Regions from separate parts of the Homo sapiens genome. Here all the other regions are linked to region 5. The links are contacts of gene promoters, found by promoter capture Hi-C in blood cells and fetal thymus (Javierre and others, 2016). All regions are on one chromosome and are shown on one strand. The core of a region is centred on a gene start or on the middle of the fragment in contact, and the rest is flanking DNA. Distances in the headings are between cores, read along the strand shown. Region 1 overlaps TMEM196 (transmembrane protein 196). Region 2 overlaps TMEM196 (transmembrane protein 196). Region 3 holds the start of ABCB5 (ATP binding cassette subfamily B member 5). Region 4 has its middle 16 kb from the start of ABCB5. Region 5 holds the start of MACC1 (MET transcriptional regulator MACC1). Region 6 overlaps TMEM196 (transmembrane protein 196). Region 7 has its middle 37 kb from the start of ABCB5.

Evidence for each region. The method cuts DNA at HindIII sites, captures the fragments that hold promoters and counts their contacts. A CHiCAGO score of 5 or more calls a contact.
Region 1: a contact is called between a fragment that was not itself captured here and the fragment with the promoter of MACC1 in region 5, in 1 of 17 cell types (monocytes). The highest score is 6.4, in monocytes.
Region 2: a contact is called between a fragment that was not itself captured here and the fragment with the promoter of MACC1 in region 5, in 6 of 17 cell types (megakaryocytes, total B cells, M2 macrophages and 3 more). The highest score is 9.8, in megakaryocytes.
Region 3: the fragment with the promoter of ABCB5 here is called in contact with the fragment with the promoter of MACC1 in region 5 in 2 of 17 cell types (megakaryocytes and monocytes); the score reaches 7.5 in megakaryocytes.
Region 4: a fragment that was not itself captured here is called in contact with the fragment with the promoter of MACC1 in region 5 in 6 of 17 cell types (monocytes, M0 macrophages, M1 macrophages and 3 more); the score reaches 19.5 in monocytes.
Region 6: a contact is called between a fragment that was not itself captured here and the fragment with the promoter of MACC1 in region 5, in 1 of 17 cell types (total B cells). The highest score is 5.6, in total B cells.
Region 7: a fragment that was not itself captured here is called in contact with the fragment with the promoter of MACC1 in region 5 in 2 of 17 cell types (M0 macrophages and M1 macrophages); the score reaches 5.2 in M0 macrophages.

The regions. Positions count from the first base shown.
Region 1 is chr7:19,719,107-19,722,005 of GRCh38, reverse strand. TMEM196 (transmembrane protein 196) reads left to right here. Exons shown (of 5, transcript NM_001363562.2): 5 at 1-2,691. Among named protein-coding and RNA genes, the nearest start is that of POLR1F, 12 kb to the right of the region's middle. The HindIII fragment of the contact is 9,231 bases long and covers 1-2,899 here.
Region 2 is chr7:19,755,169-19,758,362 of GRCh38, reverse strand. All of the region lies in intron 1 of TMEM196 (transmembrane protein 196), which reads left to right. All of the region lies in intron 1 of LOC107986774 (a long non-coding RNA gene), which reads right to left. Among named protein-coding and RNA genes, the nearest start is that of TMEM196, 17 kb to the left of the region's middle. The HindIII fragment of the contact is 4,792 bases long and covers 1-3,194 here.
Region 3 is chr7:20,614,208-20,617,073 of GRCh38, reverse strand. ABCB5 (ATP binding cassette subfamily B member 5) reads right to left here and starts at 1,407. Exons shown (of 28, transcript NM_001163941.2): 1 at 1,237-1,407. The HindIII fragment of the contact is 15,833 bases long and covers 1,335-2,866 here.
Region 4 is chr7:20,597,844-20,600,889 of GRCh38, reverse strand. No RefSeq gene overlaps it. Among named protein-coding and RNA genes, the nearest start is that of ABCB5, 16 kb to the left of the region's middle. The HindIII fragment of the contact is 1,494 bases long and covers 984-2,477 here.
Region 5 is chr7:20,215,752-20,219,041 of GRCh38, reverse strand. MACC1 (MET transcriptional regulator MACC1) reads left to right here and starts at 1,658. Exons shown (of 7, transcript NM_182762.4): 1 at 1,658-1,743. GIRGL (glutamine insufficiency regulator of glutaminase lncRNA) reads right to left here and starts at 1,465. Exons shown (of 4, transcript NR_134569.1): 1 at 1,420-1,465; 2 at 679-786. RefSeq lists an enhancer at 634-1,833. The HindIII fragment of the contact is 5,395 bases long and covers 1-1,724 here.
Region 6 is chr7:19,738,260-19,741,541 of GRCh38, reverse strand. The region is part of intron 1 of TMEM196 (transmembrane protein 196); the gene reads left to right. All of the region lies in intron 1 of LOC107986774 (a long non-coding RNA gene), which reads right to left. Among named protein-coding and RNA genes, the nearest start is that of POLR1F, 31 kb to the right of the region's middle. The HindIII fragment of the contact is 6,426 bases long and covers 1-3,282 here.
Region 7 is chr7:20,577,032-20,579,869 of GRCh38, reverse strand. No RefSeq gene overlaps it. Among named protein-coding and RNA genes, the nearest start is that of ABCB5, 37 kb to the left of the region's middle. The HindIII fragment of the contact is 927 bases long and covers 938-1,864 here.

The DNA of each region.
Region 1 (2,899 bases), core at 352-2,851, 500 kb after region 5:
ATAAAACAGTTTTTGCATTTGCATTTATCTCTCCTGAGCATCCACTAAAATTATTCTTCCTAAAAAATATATTGCCTCACTGGTTTCTCCACCCTTTTTTATGGGGTAAAAAACTTTCCAGAAACATTCTAGTACAATAATTTCAAGAGGCTTTCCAGATTGTTCTAAAGAAGACTTTTCAGGAAAAAGAGATAATAAAACAGAAATAAAATGCATATTCTATACAAACACTATTTGACTAGCATGATTATTATATTTGTAATGACATATTTCATATGAGTAATTGAAAAGTGCAAATATCAAGAAATAAAAATAACTTATTGACGTCTTTGTTCTGAAAGACAGATGGCTTCAAGGATGCTACAATTCAAAACCTCAGTAATGCCTTGTTATAAAAACATTGTAATTATTTTCAACTTGTGAATGAAATATATTTCATAATTTATTTGTAAATGACAAAAAACCTCAAGCATAAAAAAGAGACTTTTTAGAGAGAGAGAATACTAATCTATATGGTATTTTTGCATTTTTGCACAAAGAGTGAAAAGTTATATGTGAATATCATTTAAGAAAATAAACATGTTTTGATCATACTGTGCAGATTGATCTGCATGTTCATGAATGAGCCTAAGAATAAAGTATGTGTGTGAATGTGTGTATACATACTGTAAATATAGAACATGTATACAGCATATATTATAGCATACATGAATGTAAATAGGTATTAGAAAAGAAATTGTGATGCTGTGGGGGTATTATTAAGATTCTACTCCAATAGAAATGGGAAGGCAATTGCTCAAGGCCCTTCTATGCCCACAAAATCACATGTTTAATTTCTACTAAAATTGCCCATTTTTCTTCTTTTAATTAGGTTTTGTGTAAATATCATTGTGGGTGATATTTATGAAGATGAGTGATCTGAATAGTGTAGTATACAGATAGACTACTTATTTGACTATTTCACTATGATTATAGTATTTATGTATAGCAATTAAAATTAATTTATAAACGAACATGACTTTAATGACATACTTCCGTATTTATAAAGATATCATGACTTAAAATTATTGATGATATTGATATTTCAAACACCTTGCAGTCCAGTTAAATGATACAAAAGGGCAGATGATGTAACCCCCCAACAATGAAGTTATAATTACCTTTGCTGTAATCTAATTTAGGTGTTTTGTTTTACGATTCTCATGAAATAATATAGGCAGTCCATATATAAGAAAGCCTATATCCAAAGATCCTGAAAGAATTCTTTGAGGAAAAAGTGAAAAGATAGGCTAACATTTGTATAGCTAGATTCAATCCTTTCCTCTAATAATGGAATGTTAAAATAGCAAACAAGAACAACACATATAAGTGAAAAAACAACATATATCTGAATATATTTATCAGAATATAACCTCTGGCAACAGACAAAGAAATCTATCATTTTTAAATACATAACTCTCACTATATTGTATACTTTTCTTTTTCCTCAAATCTAATCAATTTTCAAGTCATTTTTTATGAGTTACTTGTTGAACCATAGGTAAATTAAAATATTTACTGTTCAGTATGAGAATATAATTTATAAACAAAACATGAGTTTTAATTGTGCTAACACAGTAATGATCATTCAAGTTAATGAAAATTTGAAGGTCTTTTATAGCAACATGATCATCGTTTAACCTATTTAAATCAGCTCACTTAAAATTCTGGCTGTCATCTATTCAACAGAAATAACTGGACTCTGCTTGTTTGGTGCACTTTTTGAAGTCTCCCAATTCCTTTGGATAACTTCATTGCCTAGTAGATTACAGAAGTTGTCCATAAATGCAACCTCATATAGTGAATCAACATCATAACTATTCATTCAATGCCACAAACAGGCATGATCTTTGCCAATGAAAATCTAAATTACATCATGAAGATATTTGTGTGTGTATGGTCCTCCTGAATTCATGCAAGGATGTAGTTTTGTACTGAAAGAATAAACACTGACTCTAATTTTCAGTAGCATTTCTCTATAAACATGCTTGTTCAATACAAAATTATAATACATCAGAAAAATGTTGTAATGCCTTTTGAACTGATCTATAACATAACACATTAAAGGACAAAAGGAGACATATCACTGCTTTGATGTATAGTTAAAAAGAGATGCCATCATCACAATTATTCAAATAGTTTACAGTGTATGTTTAACCAAGTATAGATATATTTTTAAATATGATTATTTCTACCTAGTATTTTCAGAATTGAGTTTAGAATGATTTACTTGGGATGTGCGGCGATTCTTTTTTAGATAAGTGGGGGATGTTAGGAAGACATTGTTCAAGTGCTTGAAACTTTAATTTGGACAATACATTGAACCACATGCTGGAATGTTTTAAGTGACTACCTTATAGTTTTAGTATGAGCCTACCCTTGGAAGAAAGTAAGGTGATACTAAATTAGAAAAACTATGTGAAACTGGAGTGGTGGTATACTTTGGACCATATCAAATAGGTAGAGTATTATAAGCATAAAAGAATAAAATTGGGCTCGCTTTGGAAATTTTAAACATATATGTGTATGTGTGTATATATATGCATATACATACACATATGTGTATATACACACACACAATGGTTTGGAAGTGGAACAGGAAATGATAACTCTACTGACATGTCTATAATAAAATGATGTGCTTTGAAACTATATATGGTGTTGGCTTTCTTTTCATTATAATACAGAAATACCTTCCCCAATAGCTACATGAATAAATATGCTATTCTGAGAGTGGCAAGGGATGGCCTGCTGTGAATGAGGGGAAAGAGACAGTCACAGACGAAGGATACAGAATTAAATAAGAATATTATTTGAGATACAAAAGCTAGAATATGTTCAAGTATAGAGAGAGACTGGT
Region 2 (3,194 bases), core at 96-2,595, 460 kb after region 5:
TTAGTATGTTAACAGATTTCAGAGGTTTCTACCTGTTTGGAAGTTTCAAAGAAATGGCTTTCTACACCAATTTTGGCATCTTTTCCATGGTGCTTTTCCAGACCAAATGAGAAATGGAAGCTAATTTTTAGAAGCTAATATTTTCCAAACCAACAAGAGCTATTGATCAATTTGGATAAGTAAGTGAATTGCCTTCAAGAAGGTTTTTTTAAAAACAGAGTCCAAAGCTCATTTATCAAGCAGTGAACATTCAAAACTTTGGACTGGAAATGTCAAAGTCATTAGGCTATTAACATTTGCTATCTGAGCATTTTCTTTTTAATTCAAATATATATGAATTAAAATTTATAAATTTACTACACCATTTGCCTGGGGTTCTTAGTAAAAAAAAAAAAAAGTATATATATAAAAATGGCTTCATTCAACACTATTTTAAAAGATAAATGCCTTTTAATCATCCTATATGTTTAAAAAGGTAACCTTTTTAATGCTTTTATTTTTAACCATGGATAGAGTACAGCATATTTACTAGTGATGGAGTGGGCTGTTTTCTAATATGAAAGTAAGAAACTAAAATATCATATAAAAGACAAGCAATATTAATTAATTTTATATACCAATCACTTATAATTAAAGTAAAATATTTTCTCAAAGGATCAGTTACTTTGGAGTAAAAAAAAGGAGTAACTTTAACTCATGATTTTGCTAATGTCTTTTCAGCTCCAGCCAAGCTATCTCACTAAACCTCTTAGACCCTCAGACCTACAGAATAGTCTTTTAGAGGGGACATGAGGGTTTAAAAAATACTAAGATGAAAGCATTGACTGGGCATCATGGCTCATGCTTGTAATCCCAGCACTTGGGAGGCCAAGGCGGGTGGATCAATTGAGGTTAGGAGTTCGAGACTAGCCTGGTCAAGTGACTAGGTTAGGAGTTCAAGACTAGCCTGGTCAAGTGAAACCCCATCTCAACTGGTGAAACCCCATCTCAACTAAAAATACAAAAAAAAAAAAAAAAAAAAAAAAGCTGGGTGTGGTGACACGCACCTATAGTCCCAGTTACTTGGGTGGCTGAGATGAGAGAATCGCTTGAACCTTGGAGGCGGAGGTTGCAGTGAGCCAAGATTGCGCCACTGCACTCCAGCCTGGGTGACAAACTGAGACTTCATCTCAAAAAAAAAAAAAAAAGTATCTACTGCAATATAAGATGCAAGTTTTGGGGATATTACACTATAGGTTATCAGAAAACTTATGCAGGTAAAAAGCAAACTGCCTTTAGAGCTAATTTAGGAAAACATTGTATTTTCTGAGTGATAAGATATTTGGGAAGAAACTTGTCTTTTCTTGACTTGTAGCCATTACTGGAACTGTGCCTCATCTAGACTTGCATGGTAAAATGTAGTAGCCAATAGCCACATGTGGCTATTGAGCACTTGAGATGTGGCTAGTGTGAATTAAGATGTGCTTTACACTATTCACCATAACAAAGACATGGAATTAACCTAATTGCCCATCAGTGATAGACTGGATAAAGAAAATGCGGTTCATATATACCTGGGATACTATGCAGACATAAAAAGGAATAAGATCAGGTCTTTTGCAGGACATGGATGGAGCTAGAGGCCATTATCCTCAGCAAACTAACACAGGAACAGAAAACCAAATACCACATGTTCTCACTTATAAGTGAGCTAATGTCTTTCAATAAGAACTTTTAATAAGAGCTCACTTTTAAAGTGAGCTAATAAGACATTAGCTCACTTATAAGAGAGCTAAATGATAAGAACATATGGACTCATAGACGGGAACAACACACACTGGGGCCTTTCAGAGGGTGGACGATGGGAGGAGGGAGAGGATCAGGAAAAATAACTAATGAATCTAGGCTTAATACTTGGTTGAGGAAATAATTTATACCACAAACCACCATGACACAAGTTTACCCATATAACAAACCTGCAGATGTACTCCTACACACGTAACTTTTAAAATAAAAGTTTAAAAAACAAAGATGTGCTACAGGTAAAAAATACATACTAGATTTCAAAGACTGAGTATGGAAAAAAGAATGTAAAATGTCTCAAGTCGTTTTATGTTGATTACATGGAAAAATGACAATACTTTTTATATATTAGATTAAATAAACTACATTGCTGAAATCCCCCTTTTGATCTTTTAATGTACTACTAAAAAGAATAGTGATATATGTGGTTTGCATTTGTGGCTTACATTAGATTTCTATTGCATAGCTTTTGTCTGAATACATTTTTTTTTTTGATCAAAAGAAATGAGTAGCTGGTCAGGAAACTTCATGCTTTTTTTTTTTTTTAAATAGAGTCTCACTCTGCTGTCCAGGCTGGAGGCTGGAGTACAGTGGCACAATCTTGACTCACTGTAACCTCTGCCCACCAGGTTCAAGCGATTCTTGTGCCTCAGCCTCCTGAGTAGCTGGGATTACAGGCATATGCCAGCATGCCTGGTTAATTTTTATATTTTTAGTGGAGACAGGGTTTTGCCATGTGGGCCAGGCTGGTCTCAAACTACTGGCTGCAAGTGATCTGCCTGCCTCAGCCTCCCAAAGTGCTGGAATATAGGCATAAGCCACCACGCCTGGCCTCACATTTTGTTTTGCTAAGACATTAACAATAGATGAGGAAAGTCTTTAAGACAATTTGTGTTATTTTTTGGCATATTCATAAACTGGAAAGGCAGAATTGGCTTATTTGCCTTGTAGTGACACCAGAAACAGGTGTTACAGTACAGCATTTCTCAAAATGAACCCTTAAATTATTTGTACCCATGACACAATACTTTCAATCTTATTTTTTTACTAGTAAAATCAAAGTCTCTCTGTTACTTTTTATTAGTGGGATTTCAAGTATAGTATAATCTGGCAAGTACCAAAAGTGTTCCAGGCAAGGGAAGACTATTTCCCACTTCTCCCACTGAACTGAAATTCATTCACTCATCGATCTATTCATCACCAAACATTCACTGAAATTTTTGTATGTGCACGTCTCATGTTAGTGATAAAGGTTTAATATATATTTTAATAGCAGTCGACCAGGAGGAGTTTAAAACCTTTTGCAATGACAGATATATAATTAATAATTACCAAAAAGTATGATCAGGGCATCAGTGTTAAAATATGCATTAAAACAATATTTTGTTAGATTTTGCCTAAGTAGAAAGGTT
Region 3 (2,866 bases), core at 158-2,657, 400 kb before region 5:
TTAAAACAGGGTAATTTTATGAAGAGTAATGTGGTATTTATATACATCTGGTCAGAGAAAGCCCCTTGTAGAAGATAATGTTTAAGCTGCAATCTGAATTATAAAAGGAGGTTGCTATATAAAGATCAAAAAGACTATCCCAGGCAGAAGGAATACTATTTAGATAGTAGAGAAAAGTGCACTGAGACAAAGCGACACAAGGTCAAAGCAATTTGTGAGCCAGTTGGCAGGTCCTCACTGTATGGAAAGCTACAGGTTGACTATGATGGCTGCCCCCATGTTCCTCTCTGTTACCCAATGTTTCAAAAGGAAGATAAATTTAACTTGAAACTTGTCAAGTTTGAGATATTTGTGAGATAATCAGGTAGTAATATCCAGCACTAAGTAGATAACATGAGAGAAGAACTCTGAACATCTTAATTGCTCTACACAAAATCTATCAGTCAGCCAATTCTTACTTATTGACAGCTGTGTGGATGCTATCATGGCAAGTACTATGGAACATACAAGAAAATGTAAAAATAGACAGAATATTTTATTTATAAGGACTTTTGCCTTAAAAAATATTTCTAGGTTCATGTACCAAGATGGAAATCATAGGACAAAATACCCATGTGAGAAGAAATCATGAGATGCACTTAACGTTCAAGCATCCTTGGTAAGAATAATCTGACAAATAGCTAAGATATACTGGTTGGATGGAAAACATGGGATCTTTGGTTAGATGAAAGAAGATATGGCTGGGCGCAGTGGCTCATGCCTGTAATCCCAGCACTTTGGGAGGCCAAGGCGGCTGGATCATCTGAGGTCAGGAGTTCGAGACCAGCCTGTCCAACAAGGTGAAACCCCATCTCTACTAAAAATAAAAAAATTAGCTGGGCATGGTGCTGGGCACCTGCAATCCCAGCTACTCAGAAGGCTGAGCCAGGAAAATCTCTTGAACCCTGGAGGCGGAGGTTGCAGTGAGCCAACATCGTGCCACTGCACTCCAGCCTGGGTGACAGAGTGAGACCCTGTCACAGGGAAAGAAAGAAAGAAGATATGAATTGTATGGATGCTTTAAAATGACCAAAATAATAGTAGGATGATCATTTCTGACTATGAAAAAGTTTCATACACACACATTTTTGTTTCCATCTTTACCACAAACTATTCTTTCTAAGATGGAGAAGTGTTTTATATTCTTCACAAGCTTCAATTGTTTTCATAATCTCTAATACTTTTGCTTTGACTTACTTTAATTCCTTAGATGCTGTTTTGAGTGGGCCCCATCCAGTCAGTTGAAGTCCTTAAGAGAAAAGACTGAAGTCTTCTGAAGAGGATAGGATAAAGCTTTCAGATACAAGGTATCAATTTTTTGCCAGAATTTCCAGCCTTCTAGTCTGGCTTGTGGATTTTGGAAGTGCCAGTCACCACAATTACATGAGCGTGTTTTCTCTTTCTCTCTCTACATACACACACACACACACACACACACACACACACACACACGGCCTATTGATTCTATTTCTCTAGGGGAACCTAATATACCTGGCAAGACAGACGTTATGTGATGAATAGTACAAAGAGTGACTATTCTAGTATCTAAGAAGACTGAGGAAGAACATTGTGATCTAAAATGGTTTCGCCCACAGATGAGGATGGCCCTGAGGTTAGTTTCTGGAGGAAGGCTAAGGTTTCAGTAAGTAGAAAAATGTGGAGGAGGAACAAGGGCATAGTTTTAGGAATGCAAGGTGAATTATCTCATGGTAGAGAAATGAGAACGGTTTGGATAGGATGGACTGTTCATGCAGAAATGGAGAGAGAGATAAGGTACATACGATTGTAAAAGGCACTGAACCAATTTTTAGGACAACTTTTATAATTTTCTGGAATGAAAGAGACAAAGCCATTGGTATTTGGTACAATTAACCTGATTATTTGACATTACAGCCATGGATATACTGGAAGGACTTGGGGAAACACAAGATTTAAGTAGACTCATTAAAATCTAGTTTGATAGCAGTAAGTAAGACTATTTGAGAGGTATTTTTAAGGCGGTAGGTAGGTAAAGAGGACAAGGAAGAAGAAATAAAAAAAATATAAGTTCAGCGATCAAACTTTTAAAAGTTGTAACAAAAGAGTAGTAAAGATGGTAATAGAGAAGTTATGAGACAGAATTGGTTTTGGGGAAATGGTAACATTCAGTTTAAATATGCAAATTTGGGTTGATATTGGTGTCCAAGTGAAAATATCTGGCAAACAGATGTAAATGTGGCACTAATAATTAGGAAAATTGCCAACCTAGAGATAAACTTGCAATTGTCATATGCACAGAAGGAATAATTAATTTTGCTTTAAAAATCTCATGATGTCATCTAAATGCACAGAAGTGGTGTAATGTAGCTAAAAGTGTTACTTCTAGAGCAGAGCCATCCAACAGAACTTTCTGCAATAATTGAGATATTCTCCACACATCCAATATCCTAGCCGCTACACATATGTGGCTATTGAGCGCTTTTAATGTGCCTAGTGAGGGAGCTGAATTTTGAGTTTTATATAATTTTAATTAATTTATTTTATTTATTCAGCTTTAATATGTATAATTGACAAATACTATTGTCTATATTTAAGGTTTACAACATGATGATGTGATATACATATACATTGTGAAATGATTACTGCAATGAGCACATCCATCACTTCACATATTTACGTGTTTGTGTGTGTGCGTGTCTGGTGAGAACGCTTAAGATCTACTCTCTTAGCAAATTTCAAATATACAATACAGAATTATTAACTGTAGTCACCATCCTGTACCCATCTTATAACTGGAAGTTTGTACCCTTTGACCAACATCTCCCCATTTCCTCCACCTCCTAGTCTC
Region 4 (3,046 bases), core at 481-2,980, 380 kb before region 5:
TTGACTTTACAGCAAACCTGAGACTAGGCTGGAAAGGATTATTATATCTGATTTTTGGTTGAGTTTGAGGACTAAGTAATCTTAAGCAGTCTGCTTATATTCGATAAATGTGGCATATTTGATTATTTGTCCAAATTATTTGTTGCCCTTCCTTACTATACCCTCTCTGGAGCCCCTTCCATTTCGAGGAGTATACTTACTCTCCCATTGACCTCGGCTTAGCCTTGTAACTTGCTTTGACTGATGAATGTGAGTGGAAGAGGCCTGTGTCATTTCTAAGCAGAAACTTCAAGAGTCATCTCATCTGTCAATTAATTTTTTTCCCTCTGCCATCAGAATAGCATGTCCTTATTAGTAGCTACTTCTTCAGCCTGAATCCCAGAAGGAAGAATTATTAGAATAGAGATGCAGCCAAACTTCAATGGTCATTAACGTGAGCATGAAATAGATCCGGGTTGTTTTCGCCCTTGAGATTTTGGGATGACTAACGCTCCTAATGGCCCCCTGCCCACCGACAATGGAAGAGTGAGAATTAGAGGCAGGTTTCCTGTCCATCTTTCCCCCACCCTCCTGTGGTTTCTGTTACAATACTGAGAAGGAGAGGAAGAAGGTTGAATTTGTCTTAAGTGGGGAGAGGATTATTTGCTCCCACATCAGAGCTGAAACTGGGAGAAGGTGTGTTTTTTATCTACTCACTTAGAATTTAGAATGGAGATCTCAAATTTCTTCCAGCCCAGGAATTCTATTATTCTGTATTCCCAAAGTAACATCACTGTCCATTTTTGCTACCTATACCAGTCCTATTTGTGGAGTTATGTAATTGAAGCCTGTCTTTGGCATTAATCTGTGGGATTGGCTGTGAAATAAACCATTGTATATAATAATACTTAATATAAGAAAAATGTTTGCTACATTCCAAATAATAAGCAAAAAAGTAAACTTTTGAAACAAGCTCTTCCTTTACCTTAGGTTCAGGTAAAGCTTAGAAGGCCAAGATGATGTTTTCTAAGGAAACATTTTATAAGGGTGATTGTGGATTCCCGTGCTGCCCACAGGGAGGCCACACAAATCAGGACTTCACAATATTTTCTTGCGATAATTTGTTTACATATTTATTCCTAGGCCTGTTTTCTCCCTCCACAAAGCCAGGTTCCTTGAGTTAAAAGGGTTACTTTTTCAACTGCTATATATAACAATAATTATAGTCTGCTCCAGTTCTTCTACACCCTTCATTATTATTCAGATTTTGAGGTCTATGGCAGATTAGAATTCCTGGGTCATTTTCAGAGATTTGAGATATTTTCCTCAACCTCATTATTTTCCAGCATAAACATCTGAAATCAGAAGCAACGAGGTAATTTAAATGAAGATCAGAATGAGTTATTGACAATTTCAGATAAAAAAACAGGTTTTTGGTTTTAAAAAATATCAAATTGGAAAGAGGAGGACAATTATTTCCAGTAAAATGTAAAACCATAGGAATAGCTATTATTTATGGGCTACCTACTCCAGGCCGAAATCTTACTATATAGGATTGTATCGAATCCTCCCCAAAGCTGCCCGGTAGGCTGTATATATGTCGCCTTCAATGTTTGGGATGCGAAGATGGCGCCCCAGAGACGTCAGTCTGTCATAACGATCACGTGACTTTATGGGAAGACCTGGCATCCGATCCCAAGTCCCTCAGAAGCCAAAGCCCACAGACTTCCTCTACGCCACACTGACTTTCTCTCATTTGGCTTTCAAGTGCGTTTCTACTCTGGTTATCATATTTATCATCTCAAGTTTCCTACTCAATTACATACTTTCTTTCCAAAATAAATATTTATCCACATAAACCTCTATCTTCACAGGAAGCAGAAAGTTGAAAATCGCATAATCTCCATGAAAATTTCTGGTGATCTTCCTACGGGAAAGGGAAGTTGCGGTTTGCAAGGAGCACAGGCAGGGACCTCTTACCAGTAGTTTGTGGGTCGTTGGACCACAGGAGGATGGGGGAAGCATTTGGGCAGCCAGAACACATAAATCCATATTTGAAATACCTTCATAAGCAGTGTAGTTGGTGGGAATAACTTGGGTTCATTAATTATTCTGTAATATTCTCTTTCTGAATGCCTTGTCCGATTATTAAAGTCAGAAGAAGCTATGCAACCTGTCAGCCACTAGATGTCATTGTTGCTCATGAAATAGAATGGCTCATTCTACAGTGTTTATGTGTAGATCCTTGAATGACTGCTGTCCTCTTCCCTGAAGTTTACCCTTCAACTAAGAGCTATGAGTAATATAGAACATGTGGCTTCTGATAAGAAAAAACTTGTGTCCTTGATAGAAGCACGATAAACCTATCTAAACAGTTACAGAATATCACAAGAGTGTGCATTCATTTATGACCACTTACAAATATGAAGAACAGAGGTAACAAGAGCTCTCAGATCCAGAGAGAGAAATAAATGTAAACTGCACTGGCTGTGGAAGCTTCTAGAGATGTGGGACTCAGGTGCTGTTCTAATGGATGATTAAGACTAGGGTAGGAAGAAAGCAAGATCATTTCAAGAAGGAGGCATGCCATGAGCATTTGTGTGATGGTGGGAAAAAATACTCAATTTGGGTGAAGTAGAAGATTCATTCTGGGAAGAGTAGAGCTGCTGGTGAGGGTGACAGATGGTATAGGAACAGAAAAAACAGAGGAGTGCTTGAATTTACCTTCCATCCTGAATTTGCCTCTGAAAGTTTCTGAGGAGAGTGATGTGATGCAAATTGCACTTTAGGAAGATGAAGTGTCAGCGGTGTATAGATCCAGGAGAAAGGAAGAGTCGTATTAGGGAGAACACATACACTACAGAAAGTGGACAGCCGCTACAGTGTCCAGGTAACAAACTATAGCAGAAGACCAGTAAGGTGAACACAAAAAAATGACTGGGCTACCCTGACATGGCTATCTCTCGTTGAGGAAGACATGCTCCTGAATGGAAGGAATTAAAATATCTGGAGACTTAAACCTTGTGAATGGCCCTTCATTGTTCTCAGGACAAGGGCCCCCCAGGTC
Region 5 (3,290 bases), core at 409-2,908:
CATTAACACACACACACCTTAGAGTTAACATCTCAGTTATTTTATGTGTTGATTGTTTATCACAAACATCTACTTGTACATTAATGAGTTAATGAAGTAGGGATACAATGAGGCCTTGCCTTCAAATAGGAATGTAAGACTGCATAGGTACACACACACCCATGTAAACCAATGAAATGAGATATACAATGTGTTATGAGAGGAGCAGATGCAATATTATGAAATTGATTAGGAGGAAGAGAATAACTCAGATTAAGACAAACTGAGAAGGACATCTTGAAGAGTGTTTTTCATTGAGCTTTGGAAAAAATGAAATCTCTGAACATTTCAAGATGAGCAAAAATGGTTTCAGGGAGGAGAAATGCCATGCAGAATGCCCTCTGTAGGGTTTGGGGAAATTAAGAACCATTTGTTTTGGAAATAATATAATGACATAAAGGAAAGCTAGGTTCTAGTAGAGAGTTGAGGAACCTGTGACAAAAAGAAACAGAACAGCTCAGTTTGGATTGTGGGATGAGTCAAGGGGAAACTTCAAAGGGAATCTGGGTGGATTAGGTGATCTGGCAGCATGAAGCCAGGGATGCATCAGGGAGGAAGGGGTGGTTAGAACAGTAGGAGAGAAAGTGCAGAAAAGGGAAAGGAAACTTTTTCTTTGTCACCATTCTGCCATCTACTTACATTAGATGAATCCTTCTATTATGTTTCTGAACCCAGACCCAGCCAGGACTTGTCTCTATTCATTTTCTGGGCTGTGTCTAACAGGAGATAATAGGCTAGAGAGAGATGCTGTATGAACAAATAGAGAAACACATTTGTTTTAAACATTCTCTGTTGCTGATGTTGGAAAAAAATGTGAAACAATTATTGCACATTTCATTTCACTAAGTTTTACCTTTTTTCCCCTTTCCCCTAATTTTCTCTTTCTTGAATTTTGAACAAAATACACAGAAGGAAAACACAAAACACAGAAATGGAAAGTAAAATGGAAGAAAATATCAAGAAAACTTTATTCTTGCTTATATTTTAAAAGGCACATTTTAAAGTGTTATCTTAAAAATCCAGAGCATTTTAGAAGATGAAATGCCAAAAGGTCTCCATTATGTCTATATGTCTATGTCTTTGAGTGACAATCACAGTGCTGATGTAGAGGGAAAGGGGGAACTAGTTAGACACTGTCACTCACCTGGGAAGGCTTTATTCACCTGTTCCACAGGGCAGTGAGGCACCTTCAGCTCTGAATCACCGAAAGAGAATCTGGTGGGGCAAGTTCCAGCTGCATGAGGATTTGCTTGCATAAATATTTTTTACTTATTGCTAACACTGAGGGTGCCTTCTTACTCCCTGGCAAACATTAAACCACTTTTATTTCCTTTCATGGAAATAAGATTATATTTACAGATGGTTCTTAGATATACTCACCTGATTTTTTTTTAATTGCTTTTCCACCTGCTTCCCCTTTCTTCTTAGGGTGAAACTCTAGCCATACGCCCTCTTCTGGTTTCGGGTGAGGAGCCTGAATTGTGGGTATCGTAGTTCTCTTGCCTTTTGGGGTTTCTAGTTGGGCAGCTTTGGAGCCACAGTGGTAGAACTTCAAGTCCCAGGTGGCTCAGGAAGCAGGGGTGCAGTTGCCTGCCTGCATACGGAGCAAGGCATGTTTGAAGAGTACCCGGGTTTGGTAGAGTGACTTCTATTCACTAAAACCATGTGTCTGAACTGAAGAAGCTTGGGCTCACTTCCACAAATGTAAGTGCTGATTTTTTAAAAATAATATTCCTTTCACTATTGATATGTGCTACACACTAGGAAGTTGTATAATTTCCAGAAAAATGTAACAAACCAGCTGCTTAACAAATCAAGCCCTGCTTAAATAAAGGGAAGGTAACTGGTATTCTGTGGGCTTATGGGACATGTGTTAGAATAAACCTCATGACATAGAATAGAATAATACCTTGAGACATGGTTTAGAATAAAGTAGTTTATTTTAAAAAAAAGGAGGAACCCAGGTCACATTAACCATCAAAGGCAAAAACAAAACACTCTATGAGTTGCTTAAAATATGTAGATGGCTGAAATCCCCTAAAAACTTTAAATATCTCAAAAAGCATACAGGTATGTTAAAAAGACTGTGCTTTGAAGATAGATAAAGTTGCAATCAGCAGCCCCACTGCTTATTAGATTTATGACCATTGACAAGATGTTTCACCTCGCAAAGTCTCAGTTTCCTCATCTGTAAAGTGTGTGTGCATAACCTACCTCATTAGGTTAATAGCATTAAATTATGAATAAAAGATAATCATGTAATTAAGTTAAGGGGGTCATTAAATTAGCACAGTGCATTGTACTGAATAGACAGATGATACATGATGGAGGGTAACTTGGCTTCATCCTAATTAAGTTTCAATTAAGCTTGGAAAACACACCAAAGAAACAAAAAGACAAATACTGGATGATTCAACTTACCTGAGGTATCTGGAGTAGTCAAACTCACATAAATGATACTTAGAATGGTAGTTGCCAGGGGCTTGGGGGAAGGAGAAATGAGAGTTGTTTAATGGATATAGAGTTTCAGTTTACAAGATGAAAACACTTGGAGACTGTACAATAATGTAAATATATTTAATACTATTGAACTTAAAATTTGTAAGTGTAAACACTTACAAATGGTTAGGATGGTAAATTGTATGTTAAGTTTTTTACCACAATTAATAAAGATAGATTTTAAAAAATTTATTTTTAAGATCAAAAAGCATGTAGTGAAAATTCCAATGCCTTCCATTTATTAAAGGTCTTCCTAATTTCCTAAAAATGTCTTAAGTCTATATTCAGTGGGTCTAATTTAGGATTGATATTGACTTATCTATGTTAATGTCTGGTTTTTACATAGCAATTACTGGGTGATAATGATGAATTTCAGGTATATTCTTAAAGTTGTCTTAACCTCAGTGGTGATTCTTTTATGCCCCCCTGAACTTAATTACATGATTATCTTTTATTCATAATAGCGATTTTTAATATGATTTCATGGGTAGTGTACAGAATCTAGAAATTATGAAGTCATAATTATTAGTTACAATTTGCTTAAAAGCTTTAGTTATGACTCATTTTTAAAACTTAAAGCAAAAATATTATTTATTCCAGTTTTCTCAACTTCCTTGTAGCTAATTTACAAATAGAATATTTTTATCTGTTTGTGTTTTAGAGATAATAAAAACTATTAAGGCAAAGTTTGTTAAACACCATCTTATCTTAAAATGTATTGGCTGATTTGGAGGACAAAAGACATTTTGGAA
Region 6 (3,282 bases), core at 638-3,137, 480 kb after region 5:
GAAAAGAATTAATCTATCATGACTAACCATAACTGTTTTCAAATGTTTAAATTAACTGGATTTGATTCAGTGATGATTAATTGCACCCAGTTATGTGCCTTAAAATTGGCTGAAATTGATTAATTTTTGTACCTCCCCATGGATACTGTAAATACACTCATCAATGCATTTACTGATTCATTCATTTCATCTGAAGTTCCATTATGTCATCTAGAAATATTATTTCAACAGCACAGCTTTGTCAGAGAGGCTATGGCAAAGCTGGATATAACAAGTAGATGATCTGTCACTCTAACAATGCCAGTAATTGCAAACGAAATAACACATTGAATTCCATTGTTTATATGGAGATTCATATGAGGTTTGAAATGGTTTCTTAGATCCATAATTTATTTTCTTCATAAACTCGCCCGTCACAGAGCATAATTCCTTTTTCAATCCATCTGTTTTTTCTAGAGGGTCGAGAGACTATCAAAATGCTTTACAAAATGAAGACTTTATTTCAGCAACTATTATGAATGTGTGGGAACTACAAGCTACTTTCTAAATAAAGATGAAATATGTTAGTTATTGAAGGTGGAGGCTGCATCTACTTCAACATGTAGTGGTTTATCCTTCATTATATTTAAGAAGAAAACTACGCTCAGCCTTCAACCTCAATCTTCCATGATAGGCTTAATTTATTTCTGTACTCAATTCTTATAAACTACTCTATGGAACTTTTGAGTTTGTTCCTGAAATACCTGACCCTCCAGATTCTGAATTCATTTCAATTCCACATGCAAAACCAGCCTTGGATATAGGCAGGCAAAACAATGACCTCGGTGGTTGTGGTTGAAAAAACGCTAGCAGAGCTCCTTGGCCCACCCCAAAAAGGGGTGCCACCCTCTCATTCCAAATACACATTCTGAGTATGTACAGATTAGGGAGTTTTTGTTAGTATTTTTTAAATAGCCACGGAGAACACAAAACTGAATAACAATGAATCTTGATGGGCTATTTTTTCTTAATATTTACATCATAATTTTGCCTTGAGCAAATAGGAGTCAACTTATTTAACTTTTTGAATAAGTAACTCCTAAAAATGGTTCAAATGTAAATAAAACCAAAAGCATTCAACAAAAGTTCAGTCCCCTTGATCAGGTTGCCATCACTCCTCTAACCCAAATAATCACAGCCATTTGTTTCTTGTTTTTCCAGAGTTACTTTACACATGTATGAGCAAACTTGTATATAGATAATTATATATTTCTTGCCTTTCTACACAAAAGGTAGTATATTACATACACAATTTTACACCTTGCTTTTTTCCCTTAACTATATGTGTTGGAGAACTCTCCATATCAGTGAATAGTAATCTTTCTCATATATTTTTAATAGATGCAAAGAATGCCTTTAAATTTAACCAGTTATCTACTGACTGACATTTGGGACTGCTCTTCTTGTGTTATTACTAATAGTGCTAAAATAAATAATATGGCACATGGATCAGTTTGTACACTTGCAGCTAAATCTGTTGGATAACTTCTCACTTGTGGGACTGCTGAGGCAAAGGAGATACATGTGTGCACACACACACACACAAAACACACCTGTATAATTTTGATAATTGTTGCTGAATTCCTTTCAGTAATCAATTTATCTATAAGCATTGTATGATTCTGTAGTTCTCTACATCTTTGCCAAGATTATCGAACAGTAAAGAACAGCATCAAAGGATTTCTGCCAATCTGATAAGTGAAGAAACATATTTGAGTTAGTTTGAAATTGCATTTCTCTTATTACTGATGAGGTTGAGCATATTTATGTTTAGAAGTCATTTGTATTTCAGGGAAGTATCTGTTCATATCTTTTGTGTATGTTTCCATTGAATCGTTTATCTTTTCCTTATTAGTTTTTAGGAGTTCATTTACATTAGGGAAATTAGTCTTTTGCTTATTGTTGCAAATATTTTCCCCAGGCTGCCCAGAGATTCAGTGTCTGTTGAGGGTTCACTCTTTGCTTCAAAGATGGCAACTTCTAGCTGTGTCTTCAGGTAACTGAAGAGATGGACAAGCTCTCTGAGGCCTCCTTTATAAGGTCACTAATCCCATTCACAAATATTCAGACTATAGCAATTATATTTTATGTATTTTCATTTGTACAAATCTATAATATTCTTCATTAATGTTTTTAAGTTTTCTCCTTATTTATACTTATATTACACAATTTATTTTTAGGAATTTTATCACTGGCATATATGAATATTACTGCTTTCTAATATTAATTTGTGCCTTGCTACCTTTCTATATTACCATGTAGAGTTGATTCTCTTGGGAATTTCATATATCAATTATATTGTCTGCAAATAATGATAGTTTCACTTCCACCTTTGCAATTTTCATACTTTTAATTTCTTTCTATTGCCTATTTGAATTGTCTACTGGCTCTGCTCCAATGTATAACACAAGTGGTAATAGTGGGCATCCCTGCCATTTTCATCACATTGTATGAAGGATATGTACCATCAACATGATTTATCACTGTTGGCATTGACCTTGGTCACCTGATTGAGGTGGTGTTTGTTCAGTCTCTCCACCCTAAAGTTACTCTTTTTTCTCCTTTCCCATATGGTACTTTTTCGAAGAAAATCATTACGTGTGGCTCACACTTAGATAGTGGGAAGTTATGCTCCACTTCTTTGAGAGCAAAATATCTACATAAGTTATTTGAAATTTTTCTGTACAGTAGATTTTTCTCTTCTCTCCATTTGCTGATTTAGTCTATCATTCATTTTTATGGCCTCAAGGATATTTATTGTACACATTGGGTCATAATCCCATGCTGTTTTATTTTGGTGCTTGAATTGCTCCAGCCTTTAGTCATTGGAAGCTATTTCAGTTGGCTCCTTTGTCCCTTTGACAAACCTCAATGTGGGTTTTGTTTGTTTGTATGCTCCATGTTCATCTTATATATTTCCTGCCCCAGTCCAAAATTCAGCCATTTCTCCAAGGATGCATGGTTCCTTTTATAGGAGAAGGTATTAGAAACCAAGATCTGGGTGATAGGTGTGCTCATTGATACTGGCATGTTGCTCCTCCTGCGACTTGTCAGTAAACAGAGCAAAGAAATATATGTATGAGTATATGCCAATGTGTGTATAGACATCTATATAAATAGTTATATATGTAACCATCTGTATCTATATTAAACTAAAAATTGCTTAATACTGATACCTACAACTCCAATCCCTTACGATGTGGATCATTCTAGACTCTTACCCTGACTTATTTCTGAACTCTC
Region 7 (2,838 bases), core at 152-2,651, 360 kb before region 5:
TATAATATAGGCTTCCTGAAATTTGCCACATCTCTGAAAGTAGAAAACAAGTCAATAGAAGACGTTTCTAAGAAAAGCCAGCAACCAGAGTGAGCACAATCAATTTGAACATGTTAACTATAAGTTCATACTCAAAGAGTGAACTCATATTTAGTGTGGACAACTTCTAAATGGGAAAGATTGAGGGGATATGTTCAGAGAATAGCCTAACTTTTAGAGAAATTGCAGCCATTTTCTGTTTTGGTGGATACATGAAATATTCAGGAAAGTTATGCTTCTGTTGACTTTGATTGAAAAATAGGTTACAGGGTCTTTTTAGTTTTCTTGGATGATTCATTTTGAAATCTGGCATTAAGACAGCATTAAGAAAATACTGTGGAAAGAGAATCTCACAACATCTAGCCCTAAGGCATTTGAAAATCTTCTCTTTATCCTTTTATGTTAATTTCTTAATTTTTTAAAAAGTCAAGGGCTGATAGTAAATATTCATCCCCCCAAAACAGCATTTGTGAATATTCATCCCCAACAAACAGCATTTGTGAAATATCTCTTATGTATAAGTATGTTCATAGCATGGACTCATGAATAAATTTGTATTTAGGGTTGAACTAAGCCATAGATAATGCAAGTATTTTGGGGGAAGACACCCTTATTAAGGTATGTCACAAGATTTCTTATTGAGAGGCCCATCTCATGCCACCCTCTTCCAATTACCTGAGATTGACACTGTTGCCTTCCTAAAGAAGATACCACCTATTGTTAATGGGTGTAGGAGGTTGCAATGCTCTGTGTGTATGCATGCACGTGCACGCATGCACGCACACACACATACACACGCACTTATTAAGATACCTACAGCAAAGGAAAAAAGGGAAAAAGAAATCACGTGTTATCAAAGACTTAAAGTCATTTCAAGGATGTGTCAAGGTGCTAAGCTTGGCCCAAAATTAACATTTTTTTTTTTGTTTCTTGGAAGGGTGAAAAATTAAGCCATGAGTTTCTATTAGCTGAAGAGCACAACTGGTTTGCAAGACTAGATGACCAATACCAGGTCAGATGAGGGCACTGATGAAAAAGAACACAGAACAGGTAAGTTTATTTATTTATTTATTTTTGGCGAGACCTGGGAGAAGCTGAATGAGAAAGGGTATACATGGCAGCCCAGATTTTACATCTCTGCATGGTGATCGAAGGTTAGAATGAAGGAACAGGAGATTCCAAGAGAGAAGTAGGCAATCACCAACAGGTTTTCTTTGACACTGTGCTGAGCTCTGGCCTGCAGAGAAGGTAGACCTCGACAGGGAGACAAGTGGCACTTGAGTGTGTTTAGCAGGGCTCATTAGAACTATGGAGATCTGGCAGCATCACTGTCACATTCTAATTATTTGCCATGGAGGTGGAAAAAGCATTGCGAAAGAGCAATTTGAACAATAACAAAAATGGAGGAATGCAGATGAACTGAGAGAAAGAGGGCTTTCCATATAAGCCACTGAGAGAACATACTTGAGGAAAAAAGATCTTTTAAGATAGTCACAGGGAGTACTGACAATGTGTTAAGCATTTTTACAAGTTTTTTTTCTCATAAATTCCTTAAGATAACCCTATGAAGTGGATCCTATTATTATCTCCATGTTACAGAGGGAAACACTGAGGCTTAAAGACGTTGAGTAAGTTTCCCAGGATCTCACAGCTAGCAAGTAGCAGAGCTAGGAGTGAAATCTAAGGAAAGGCAAGGCAGTTTAAATTAAATATTCAAAGAGGAAAGTCATATGAAACGGGGATTTTTTTTTAATCAAGTATGGCTCTGGAGGGCAGAACTAATGCGAAGTTAAGGAAAAAAGTAAATTTCACTACATTGTAAGCTTTCTGAATTTTAGAACTAACCCTGGGGGAAGAACTCCTTCATGAAATCATGAGCTGTGTGTACTAGAAACATTCAAGTGCAGCTAAAATGGCCACGTGTCAGAGAAGCTGTAGAGGGATTTCAGATTTGAGTGGGAATGTTAGACCAAGTGACCTTTAAATCCCTGTGGTTTAAAATTACCACGATGTGAGTTAGTTCCTCAACATCTGGATTACATGTATTTTCAGGCCTGAAAAATAAGAGCTCAATCTCAGTTAACTCTGATTTCCCTGGAAGCCAAAACAGAAAGGGAAACTATATTCTGAATTTGATAAAAAGGTAGAAAATTAGTTTATGAGGAATAGCAAACTTTTTCTTTGCTTTCATTTCAGAGGGCAATTGAATACAAAGGTCAGTGTTTATCTGTTAAGCTCCCTCATTAGAGGAAGTATGACATAGCAGGGGCTTTAAGGTGGTTTTAGAATATAAATATTGCCAACTTCATTTGCATTTATATCTCTGTGTCATTGAGCATCACCATCTTTAATTGCCATCCATGGTCTAGTTTTTGACACAGGTCTAGGAATCTAGGAATCTATGGGTCCCATAAAACATTTGTAATCTTTAAAAGCCATGCATTTATCACATATTTATCAATTAATCCAAATCTAATAAAAATAATTATTATTTTTCTTACCACTAAGTATAGTTTTAACAGCAAAGTGATAAAAAGAATTAAAAGCTCTTAACTCAGTTGAGATTTTGATCTCTTTAAAACCCACAGTGGCATAGTAGTCTCCGCAGGTGTAAGACCAAAAATACTTCTTGTCATATTATTACTTGTGAGCTGCTCTCAAAATAGCAGTTTTTTAAAAAATAAGAAACCACTTTCACCCTCTTATAAGAATTGTCTTATTCATACAGTACAGATGTTGGGAAATGAAGACCTATAAAATCAAGGATAGACTAACTTTACAAAACAAAGAAAAGAAAGA